Regions from separate parts of the Homo sapiens genome. Here region 2 is linked to region 1. Evidence: promoter capture Hi-C in 16 types of primary human blood cells and fetal thymus (Javierre and others, 2016). All regions are on one chromosome and are shown on one strand. The core of a region is centred on a gene start or on the middle of the fragment in contact, and the rest is flanking DNA. Distances in the headings are between cores, read along the strand shown. Region 1 holds the start of ILDR2 (immunoglobulin like domain containing receptor 2). Region 2 overlaps POU2F1 (POU class 2 homeobox 1).

Region 1 (5,808 bases), core at 780-3,279:
CTATGTTTCCCTTCTTCTCTCACTCCCTGCAAACCCCCAGAGTACTTCTTTTAGGCAGACCCCAGCGTGTCTGTAAAGAGCACCTCTGACTCAGGGACCCCTCCCCCCCCCCCCCGATGCCTGGCTGACTTCAGTGCTGTTGTGATACAGGCTCAAGGACTAAGTGCCCTGAGAATATTGATAACCGAGAGTAGAGGCAGATTAAGGATGTGAAGAATCAGTGAGGGTGGGAGTGGAAGGCACTGGGAGGCCAGGGGAGCGGGGTGGCATGGATCAGCCAAACCCTGAAATTAGAGATGATTCATATCTGAATAATGTGGGAGGGATGAACTCAAAGCAGCCAAAAGAAGAGGCTAACTCTGCTGAGGATGCCTCCCCCAGCCTAAACCCAGCAGTGGGGCAACGGCAATGTTAGGGGCATTTCATTTGAAATGGGAAAAATATTTAGGCAATGAAGAATCTTATTCTGAAGCTAAGGGAAATGGGGTATTTGCCTTTTCTTGCTAAATGTATTTTACCCCCTTTACATGACTTGTTTTAGCTATTTTAAGCTTGTTCCCCTTTGCCTAGTGCCTTGATTTTGTCCAGATCTTCTGGCTGGTGATGCTAGAGGTGACAAAACTTCTCATGTGGTACTATTGTCCCTTTTCTCTCCTGCCTTCCACCCCCATCCTGTCCTCACCTTTCTGATCCCTTTTTCCATTTCTTCCATCATTCTGCCTCCACCTTGATTTGAATGGTTGCCTCTGACCCAGTCCAAGCTATCCAGACATTCCTCACCCCCATCCTACTCCCTTCAGCAGGGCTGCTTTGTGAATCTCTCAGGGCTGGCCACCCCAAGGCCCTGTATCCCTATGGGAATCGGAATCCTCATGTGGGGAAATAGGTTAAGAACAAGAGCATCTACTGACCCCAGCAGAATGGGGAGAAAGTTCACCAAAAAGGAGGGGAGGGCACAGAGGACCCAGCTAGACCAGTGACTTTGATGCTGGGGAGAAGCCCAATGCCTCTAAATCTCTCTGCAAATTATCTTTTAGGGAGCGGAGAGTGCACCTATTAGAAAGGCTCTTCTGCTTTCTAATTATCATTTGGGACCACTCCCCAAATGATACCAAGTAAGAGAGAGCCAGGCTCTAAACTCCACAACCAGTGAAGGTTCCATCCCCATCTTCTTCCCAACCTCCAGTTCCTTGCACCCTCCAGAGAGCCACAGAGAGAATGCCCTGGGTCCCCCTCCTTCTCTAGGGAAGAAATTAAGGAGACAGTCCTCTAGCCTCCACCTCCAGAAAACCAGTTCATTTAATTAATCAGCTCCCTCTGAGCTTCCTTTATTCCAGCCAGGCTTTTCACAAGACTCACAGCATTACAAACTCAGGATAAGACCGAAGGAGAACCGTTTTATGGAGGGGAAATGCATTCGAAAGAACAACCTCAGCGCCAATGAGTCAAACACCTGCATCTAGATGCGTCTCACTTGTCATTGGGCTTCTCCCCCGCCGCCCCCATCATTCTCTCTCTCTCTCTCTCACACACACACACACAAACACATACACAAACACACACGTTGCCCCCTCCCCCACTTTCCACCAGACCGCTAAGCAGCTTTAAACATGGTCAGTAAGGAGGAAAATGGGGGGGCGGGGGGCGCGGTGAGAACAGAACCACTACAGGAATATACAAAGTTATTCGTTTCTGTTGAAAAGGACTCTTACCTGTTAGCCAGAAGAGAGAAATCCACCTCAGCAAGACCCTATCCATCTTCCCCAACTTCCCAGCCGAATTACGGAGTGAGGAAAGTGGGAAATGGCTGGAACAGAAGGATCGCTGTCACCCCGCGGCAGCGGGCGGCGGCGGAGCGGCGGGCACCGGGCGTCCCTGGGCGCAGCGCCCGCCGGGCCGGCCGCGCAGGCGGGGCCGGGGGCTGGATCGCGCCGCCGGCTGAGCGCGCGCTGCCGCGGGCTTCCGGGGTCCGCGCAGCGCTCGGCGGCGCATCCGCATGCCCAGGCAGCGCGGCACGGGGCGAGCGTCTCCCCGCCGCAGAGCCCGCCGCGCGGGGGAGCTCGGCCGCCGCACCGCCTCCCGCGCCTCCGCCCCGCCGCCCGCTGCCGCGACTGCCAAAGTTTCTCGGTCACGTGCTGGCCCCCGGCGGCCCAAAGGTCAGCGTGGAGTGATTGAGGCCACGCGGAGAGAGGGGGTCTCTGGGTGGCAGGCAGCGAGAGGCGCGGGGGAGGCCGCCCCGCGGGCCGCGCCGAGCGGGGAGCGACCATCGCGGCTTCTCCCAGGGACGCCCGCGCTCGGGAACCCGGGCGAGAACGCTGGCTGGGGACTCGAGCAGGGGAGCCTGTGTCTGCGGGCAGCCACAGCCAACCTGAACGGGGAGAGAGTGACAGCGGCGAGGGTGGGGGACGGCGGGGACTTGGCGTAACTTCTTACAGGACTTAACTAGCAAGTCCTCTAGGCTAGAATGTTCGCTTCTGCGGTACCCCCGCCCCTCCGTCTGGTTTCCTTTTTGACAGTGCAAGGAACCAGGCAAGAGGCTCCGCAGAATTGAAAAAGGTAGGCGGGAATCTCGCGTCATTACTTTTTCCTGTTAAAATATGAGGTAGAATAAGGGCATCCGGCCCTTTAACAGAAAATATGTAAAACCAGAATGAGATAAATGATTATAACGGCTTAAATCCATCCAACACTTTATAGATTCCAGCACGCATTCACATGGATTATTCCTATTTGTCAGACGGATTTGTCTTGTGTCTCAAAATGTATGTGTTGAGAGAGAACTGAGAAATGTATGATTTGCTTAAGAAATATATTTATGAAGCCTCTACTAGGTGCTAAGAACTAAGGTTACAAAGTGGAATGAGATAGACTTCCTGCCCTTAGGAGCCTCATCTTGGGTCGAGGAAAGGGAGGAAGGTCAGACCATTAAAGACATGATACTTATTCCTAGTAAAACGGGGCAAGTGCAATAATGGAGACATAGAGAAAGTGCCTTGGGAACATAGAGGAAGGACTAAGTTAGTCGTGGGTGGGGAGGGGGCACCACGATAAAGGAGGGGTAACATCTGAGCTGGCATTTGCAGAAAGCACAAGATTTGAGCCATTCAAGGATCCCTGGTGGAAAGGGGGCAGGCGAGGGCATTCTGGGCAGAGGAAAGAGACATAGCAGAAAGGTCTCAAGTAGCATCTGAAAACAGAGTGGTGCCAGGCTGGAGGGGAGTTCCTGGAGCAGACAGACTCCACACCTAAGAGTGAATGTGTACACAGACAGGGAGAATATGTATGTGAACATGTGAGAAATGGGAAGAATAGACCCTGGGCAGCTGTCTTTTATGGCTGCCTGACATCTCAATTCCCTTCTTATTCTGAGAAATTCCAACTGCAGAAGCCAGAAAGTCTAGAGCCACCTCCCTGACCATCCCAGCTGGAATGCAGGCCCGGGCCCCTGGCATAGCCAGGCTGACCTCTCCCTCAGAGCTTTTTGATTCTGGAGCAAGTGGTGGATATAAGAAACAAGGACAGTGGAGAATTGATTTTGTCACTGAGGCAGCAGCAGCATCCAGTGTACATGATCAGCTGTGGCAGAGGTCAAGCCACCAGGATGCTCCAAGGTGTGATTTTTGGCTGTGGTCTTGCAGGCTCTCTGGGTTCTAGCCTCTCTTCTACACTTGGCTCTTCACTTCCCCAGCAATTCTTTGAGCCACCCAATATCCTTTCATAAACTCTTTCTTTGCTTATTTTGGCCAGGATGATTTTTTCATGCTATGTACTGCATGAGAGAAATTTGAGGACTATTTCCTTTCATATACAGAAAAATAAAAATATAGGAGGTACCTAACACTTGTGGGTTTCCTTTAGGTTCTAGGCAGAGTTCTACATGTTTAACAAACCTTCTCATTTAACCCTAAAGAGGGAACTTAGGCCCAGAGCATTTAACTAACTTCTCTAAGATCAGGCAACTAGTAAGTGGCAGAGCTAGGATTTGAATCTGACTCTAAAGCATATACTGTTTGCACCACAAAAAGAACATCTACACCAGAAGATTGAGATGATATATTTGTATTATGCTGTGCCATTTACTGCATCTATGTGTGTGTGTCACAGTGCACAAAAGAGCTTGAATAGTGTTTATTATCTAAGCACACATAACAGTGGCATTTTGGCCAGGTGCAGTGGCTCACACCTGTAATCTCAGCACTTCGGGAAGCTGAGGTGGGCGGATTGCTTGAGCTCAGGAATTTGACCAGCCTGAGTAACATGGTGAAACCCCATCTCTACAAAAAATACAAAAATTGCCAGGCGTGGTTGTACATACCTGTAGTCCCAGCTACTCTGGAGGCTAAGATGGGAGGACCACTTGAACCTGGGAGGTTGAGGCTGCAGTGAGCTGTGACCACGCTACTGGACTCCAGCCTGGGTGACAGAGTGAGACCCTGTCTCAAAAAAAATGGCATTTTATGCAAAACTTGGACATATGAGCAAGTTTATACATGTGAAAAATGGGAGATGGACTGAGTGAAGGAAGCCTGGATGTGTATATGAAGTGGAACGTGAATGCCCACAGAAATGAACTCATGTCTGCTCAGAGGAGGTGTCTGTGTAGTTGAATCAGGAGACTTGGAGAAGAGCTTGTGCCACAATGAATCATAGAATGCAGTTGCCTTGTCCATCATCCCAGAAATGTGTTTTCCATGTAGTGCCCTGCATGTCTACTTTATAGCCAGAGAGGTACACATGGTGTATCCTGAATCTTCCTGAGTGAGTGGCGCCCAGGCCATCCTGAAGGGGATGCTAAACTGGAGTGAATCACAATGTGTGCCCCTCCATCACCTTGCACATGTTGTTACCAAGGTGATGAAGGGTTAATATAAATTTTGAAATATATGTAATGATTCAAAACATGTAGCCTAAGGGATGGAGGTGGAAAGAGGATGGGAAAATGGTGTTATTTTGCCATATTGGTGGTGGGTGATGGGATATGGCACCCAGAGTCCCAATGTGGTTTCTGAACTTCCAGTATCAGGATCATATTACTGTGTTTGCTTAAACACAGATTCACAGGCTCTACTAAGAATAATGAGCTCAGAAACTCCAGGTGGAGCCCATAAATCTGCAGTTTAACCACTTTCCCCAGGTGCTTCCAATGCACAGTAATGTTTAAGAAGCAATACCTATCTTTTTGTTCTCCTGAGAAGCTGTTGAGCTGATGTTTTCTAATGAGCCTTGTATCTGGTTAAGCTCCAGTTGTTCATTCATTCTGACCTAATAGGACAGGACCCCAAATAGAGAGATTGATTCATCACAGCCAAGGAAGGGGTCTGGCTCTGCAATACTTCAAACTTTCTACTGCAATGAGACAAACATGTCACAACAATGACCTGTATGGGACCAGAACAAGATTCCCAGGAAGCCACAGCTGGGATTGTATGTGGTGGGGGGACTAACAGGCTGCTTCAGCAAAGCTCTACACTAGAGAACAGAATTAGGACACAGAGAAAAGAGAAGTGAACCACCACAAGGAGACATACTGGTAGCTGGTAGCAACCACATAGTTATAAATATAATGTAGCTGAATCCTCTTTAAAACATGATTTCATTGCAGACACACAGGCATGCATGCACATGAATACTGCTTAACGTGAGTCTGTTTAAAGCACACAGATAAAATCATATTTCTACTTCTCCTCTCTGATCCTGCATTCCAAGAGGAATATACGAAGTATGACTCTGAAACAGATACCATTTTTCTCATGTAAGTTTGGTCCATCTTTTTTTTTCTCTTGCTACCTTTTGGGTTTGTTATCTTTC
Region 2 (5,747 bases), core at 1,696-4,195, 410 kb after region 1:
AACAAAGAGTTTGTATTTCTACTTTGAATGTCAGTTTGTCATCATGAAGCATTGGTGGCATTACATTATCAATTATTTGAAACTAAGACAGTTCAGTGTTCATGCAGATATTAATAGAATATTTTACATTTCAACTTTATTATCACCAACAGGCAAATGTTTGATAAAGAGAACTTGAAAATGCTTCTTTTCCTCTGGTCCAACATACGCTGGCAGTTTCTAATGGATTCTAGGTTAAGAAGTTGAGCTCTTTTTGGAATTTCCAGCTGTTTCTATTTAGAATAGTTTTTTAACTTTCATCCCATTCTTTCCTAAAATAAAGGATTGACCTATCACAGAGCTTATTCAGATTATGCCAAAGACATATCAGTTTTAATTTAATGTTGTATATCTTCTCTTCCAAGTTGTAAAACAAGATTGAATGTAAGGCAAATAAGATAAATAAGAGTTTTGATACCAGTAAGACTACCAGAGATCAACTGGAAATTTTCAGCTCATTTTCTGATTCTTTCTTTCTTTTGCCATGTGTTCGAAGAAATCTTTAATGTTTCTGGATAACATGTTTTTCTTCTACAGGTCTCCTGCAAGCGCAAAATCTTCTAACGCAACTACCTCAGCAAAGCCAAGCCAACCTCCTACAGTCGCAGCCAAGCATCACCCTCACCTCCCAGGTCAGTTTTCTTCTATGGGGGCTGCTTTCTCTTATCATATTGTTTGGGGAGACTTTTGGACTTTATTTAATTTTTTTTTTAAATCTAATAAAAATAATTCGGTCTTCGAAAACTGACCAGAAAATCAAAGCTAGGCTTATCAGCTCAATGCTACCAAATCAATATAGTCTTTGAAAATCTTCAGAGTTCCTGTTTCTTATATGTTCTTAAAGAATAACTGCATTAGCAGTAAATGAGTAATGAGTTCTAGCTATGTGACATCTCCCCTCACCATACTTGGCGGTAGATATTACCACTTAAACTGGAAACCTAGTGAGCCTCAGTTAAAAATCCATTGTTACCCTTTACCCTTTCTCAGAAACTGCTAAGAGATTTTGATCTCTATATTTTCTTTTTTCTCAATGCTTTTATGGTGCTTTAGCTCATTTCTACTAGACCATATAAACACTATAATTATATTAAAAAAATTTAGACATATAAAGGTTTAAATTATAGACCTGATTCCACTTCTTATCTAGCTGTTGCTTTGAACATGTCATTTTATCTCTCTGGACCTCAGTCTTCTCATCTATAAATTAGGTGACTGAACTGGCTGATCCTGAATCTCCTTCCAGCTCTGACTTTCTTTGTCTGCAGTATGGAAGTTATCACTTAATACTAACACATTACCAGATTTGACAGAATTCAGCATCCATTTATGATAAGAACTCTTGCAAACTAGATATAGAAGGTAACTTTCTTAACCTGGTAAAGAGCATGTATTAAGAAAAAAAAAAGAAAAGAAAAAAACCAACATCATACTTCACGAAAAACTGAATACTTTCCCCCTAAGATCAGAAACAAGGCAAAGTGACCAGTTGCCACTTTTATTCCACATTATACTCAAGGTGCCAGTAATGCAATAAGACAATAAAATAAAATATTAATAAATGACATACAGATTAGAAAGGAAGAAGTAAAACTATCTTAGTTGCTAGATGACATGATTGTCTATGTAGAAAATCTTAAGGAATCTACCAAAAAAAGCTACTGGAATAAGTGAGCTTAGCAAGTATGATACAAACTCAATATATAAAAATCATTTACATTTCTATACACTAGCAGTGAGCATTTGGAAATTGAAATTAAGAAAAAGAAATTTACAGTACTTAGGGGTAAACAACAAAATATTTGTAAGGCCTATACAAATAGTTCTATAGTTGAAAACTATAGAACATTGCTGCATAAAATTAAAGACCTATAAAATAGAAAGAAGTAATATGTTCATGAATCAGAAGACTTAAGTTAAATGTTAAAATGTCAGTTTTTCCCAAATTGACCTCTAGATTCAACAGTCTCAACCAATACCTAGCAGGCTTTTTTGTAGAAATTTGCATACTGTTTCTAACATTTATATAGAACTGTAGAAAACACAGAATAACCAAACGATTTTGAGAAGAAAATTGAAGGACTACTGATGTCAAGAATAATTATAAAACTCAAGTAATGAAGACAGTGTAATACTGGCATATGGATAGAAATAGAGATCAGTGGAACAGAATAGAAGGTCCAGTAGATCCACATGTATATGGCCAACTGATTTGCCAAAGGTGCCAAAGGATTTCAATGGGAAAAAAAAAGTCATTCAAAAAATGCAGCTGAAACAATAGGGAAAAAAAATAAAAAACCTTGACTATTATTTCACACCATGTACAAAGATTTGTTTGATGGGTCATAGACCTAAACTTAGAGAAAAAAGCTTGGAAAAAAATCTTTGTGTCCTTGGGTTAGGCAAGGATTTCTTAAATAGGACACAAAAAGCACCATAAAATAATGGATAAATTTAATTTCATAAAAATCAAAAGCTTCTCTCAAGTGAATGAAAAGAAAACCACAGATGGGGAGAAAATATTTATGAAACATATCTGATAAAACATTTGTGTTCAGAATGTCTAAAGAACTCATTCAAGTTAATAATAAGACAATCTGATTTAAAGGAATGGGCAGCAAAAAAATTGGAGATACGTCACCAAAGATGATATGTAAATGTCCAGCAGGCATATGAAAAGATGCTCAAAAACCGTTAGTGATCAGGAAAATTTAAATGAAATATCACTACACAGTCACTAGAATAAGCAAAATTTAAAAGGCTATGACAAAACCAAGTGTTGGCAAGAAGGTAAAGCGACTAGAGTTCTCATACATTGCTTAGTGGTGTTGCAAAATGGTATACACACTTTGGAAATTATTTTGGCAGTTTCTTTTTGGGGGGGTGAGGGGGAGGCAAGGTCTTGCTCTGTCACCCAGGCTGGAGTGCAGTGGCACAATCACAGCCCACTCTAGCAGCCTGACCTCCCAAGCTCAAGCAATCCTCCCGCATCAGCCTCCTGAGTAGCTGGGACTACAGGCGTGCATCACCATGCCCAGCTATTTTTTGTAGAGATGGGGTTTCGCCATGTTGCCTAGGCTGGTCTTGAACCCCTGGGCTCAAGCAATCTGCGTGTCTTGGCCTCCCAAAGTGTTGAGATGACAGGCGTGAGCCACCGCACCAGGCTGGCAGTTTCTTATAAAATTAAATGTGCATGTACCTTGTGACCCAGCAGTTCTGTCCCTAGAAATGAAAGCATACGTCCACACAAAGACTTGTATGTGAATGTTTCTAGCAGCTTTATTCACCTCAAACTGGAAACAACCTAAATATACATCAGCTGGTGACTAGGTAACATAAGCTTTAGCATATCCATATGATGGAATGCTACTTTGCAGTAAAAAGAAACGTGCTTCTGATACATGCATCTCCTGTGAATCTCAAAAGCATTATACTACATGAAAGAAGACATAAAAGACTGCATACAGTATGATTCAATGCACATGGCATTTTAGAAAAGACAAAACTAAGGTACATAAAACATATTAGTGGTTGCCAGGGACGGGGGGCTAATGGTGGGGATTAACTGCAAAGGGAACAAGGGAACTTTTGGGAGTGATGAGAATGTTCTGTATCTACTACTATCTGTAGTAACTGCTACTGCAATTAGTAGCAGTTGTATGACTGTAGTTGCTGAAACATATACTTTGCCCTTTTAAATGGTGAATTTGTGAATATGCTGAATGCAAGAGTGAGGTTGGGATTTTGAAAAAAGCCTATACCAGAGACTTCTTCCTGGCCTCCGTTCTCTGCATATGGTGGCAGGGCCGTTGTGGCTTCATCCTGACTCCTGCTCACTGAATTCTACTCTGCCATTTCTAGATCTGGCCCAGTCCAGCCTGAGGTTTCTGGAGCTGGGGTAACTTATCTGTAACCACCCCATCTAAAGGTACCCAAGCGATTTTTAGTCCTTTATTATTTGAGAATGGGGCTACTTCAGGCCCGGAGATGAAGTAACAATGTGATAGTTAAGACTCACCTGTAACTGTCAACCAGTTTCGCTGTGAGAAATGTACAGCTACATAGGGGTCTGCTATGGTTGGTGCTCGTTTTGGCTCCTCCAAAATGGTCAGGTTGAAAATTACGCAGTGTCAGCATGACATAGAAATGAACTTTGTTATTGTCATTGAAACAGGATAAGAGAGGAACTTAACTCCAGTTGTCGCCTGTGTAATGCTTATTCTGTAGTTTTCTGGGACAGTTAGTTCCTTTGGAGGAAGCCTTGACTCATAAGGTAAAGGTCAGGCTTATATAACTCATCTAAATTTGAAGAAGAAAAATTCACAGCCACAGACTTTATCTGTAATTCTGGTTTATAATCGCTCACCTGGGCTACTCTTCACAGGAGGAGTCAACTGAGCAACTAAGATGCAGTCAGGCAGTGCCTCCCACTAGTGAGGTGTGTTCCACTCAGGGCTTGTGAATAGAACAGAATAACCTTAAGTTTGTGTGATAAGAAAGTAGAGTATTTTATTTTTAAAAAGAGACTATACCCTCATGTCCCAAAATAAACTATACATGGATTTAAATAATCAAATATTCAACAAAGAAGAAGCTAGCAGATTAAAAGGAATTTTATCAATGTTAGAAATAAGTGAAGCTTTCTCAGATTTGAAGTAACAGGATATATTAGAAAGGAAAATTAAAAGCTCACCCAAATGACAATTTAAAGGTTTATGTACCCTGAAAAATAAAAGGAAGAAAGCAAATTGGAAAAGCATTTGCATTAATATGACAAAGCTTCCTTTATAAAATTTGAGGATCTCTCTAAGGATAAGGATGAGAATAAATATCATTAATATATAAATTGGTTAAGGACGTAAATCCAATTCACATTCAAAGAAATACAGATAATAATTGACACATGGGAAAATTTTGACATTGAGTAGTAAGAGAAATACAAATTAAAGCAGCAGGGAACTACCATTTACTTCTTGAATTAGCAAAACATTTTTTAAAACTGCTAACGTAAGTCATGTGGAAGAGTGTTGCATAGTGGGAACCAACGTTATGATATGTATCAAAAACCATGAAATTGTTTATCTAGTTACCAGAAAAGCCCTTGAGAATTTATCTCAAAAGAACTAATTACACACATAGGTGGAAAAAATAACTAATATGCATAAAGTTTTTCATTGTGTTATCTATGTTAGTGAAAACATAAAAACTGTCTAGCAATTAAGAACTGGTTAAGTAAATTATGAGAATATTGCCTTAGTTTTTAAAAAGGATAACTATGAAAACTGAAATACTCCTGATTTCAGTAGTCCAAGCTATCAAAGAGTAAGTCAGTGGTAGTGCTTAAAACAAATAAAAATGCTATATATCCAGACAACTATTTAAACCATTAAATATATTCACTCTTCTTTAAAAGTCCTCGGTTAGCTGACAAATTCCAGAAAATTAATTTGGATTTTGGTTAATTTGGGGTTTTCATCTTCTATAGATTCTTGCTCGATTAACTGGTGTTAGCATAGGCTTAGAGAGTATGTGTGCCTGTGCTTGCATGCCTGTCTCCATCACCCTCTCTCTTCCAAAAAGTTATTTTTATTTTTAATTTTTATTAATTTTTATTTTTTAGAGACAGTGTCTTGCTCTGTTAAAACAACGTTAAATAAGAAAAGCAGAGAGTAAAATTTTGTATACCATAATTACAGTGAAGGTTTAAA

The links. The method cuts DNA at HindIII sites, captures the fragments that hold promoters and counts their contacts. A CHiCAGO score of 5 or more calls a contact.
Region 2: a fragment that was not itself captured here is called in contact with the fragment with the promoter of ILDR2 in region 1 in 1 of 17 cell types (total CD8 T cells); the score reaches 5.3 in total CD8 T cells.

The regions. Positions count from the first base shown.
Region 1 is chr1:166,973,511-166,979,318 of GRCh38, forward strand. ILDR2 (immunoglobulin like domain containing receptor 2) reads right to left here and starts at 2,030. Exons shown (of 10, transcript NM_199351.3): 1 at 1,713-2,030. The coding sequence starts at 1,758. It also overlaps a transcript of MAEL not described here. RefSeq lists silencers at 1,880-1,929, 1,990-2,279, 2,400-2,449. The HindIII fragment of the contact is 7,595 bases long and covers 550-5,808 here.
Region 2 is chr1:167,383,281-167,389,027 of GRCh38, forward strand. It overlaps POU2F1 (POU class 2 homeobox 1), which reads left to right. Exons shown (of 16, transcript NM_002697.4): 8 at 577-671. Among named protein-coding and RNA genes, the nearest start is that of CD247, 130 kb to the right of the region's middle. The HindIII fragment of the contact is 864 bases long and covers 2,514-3,377 here.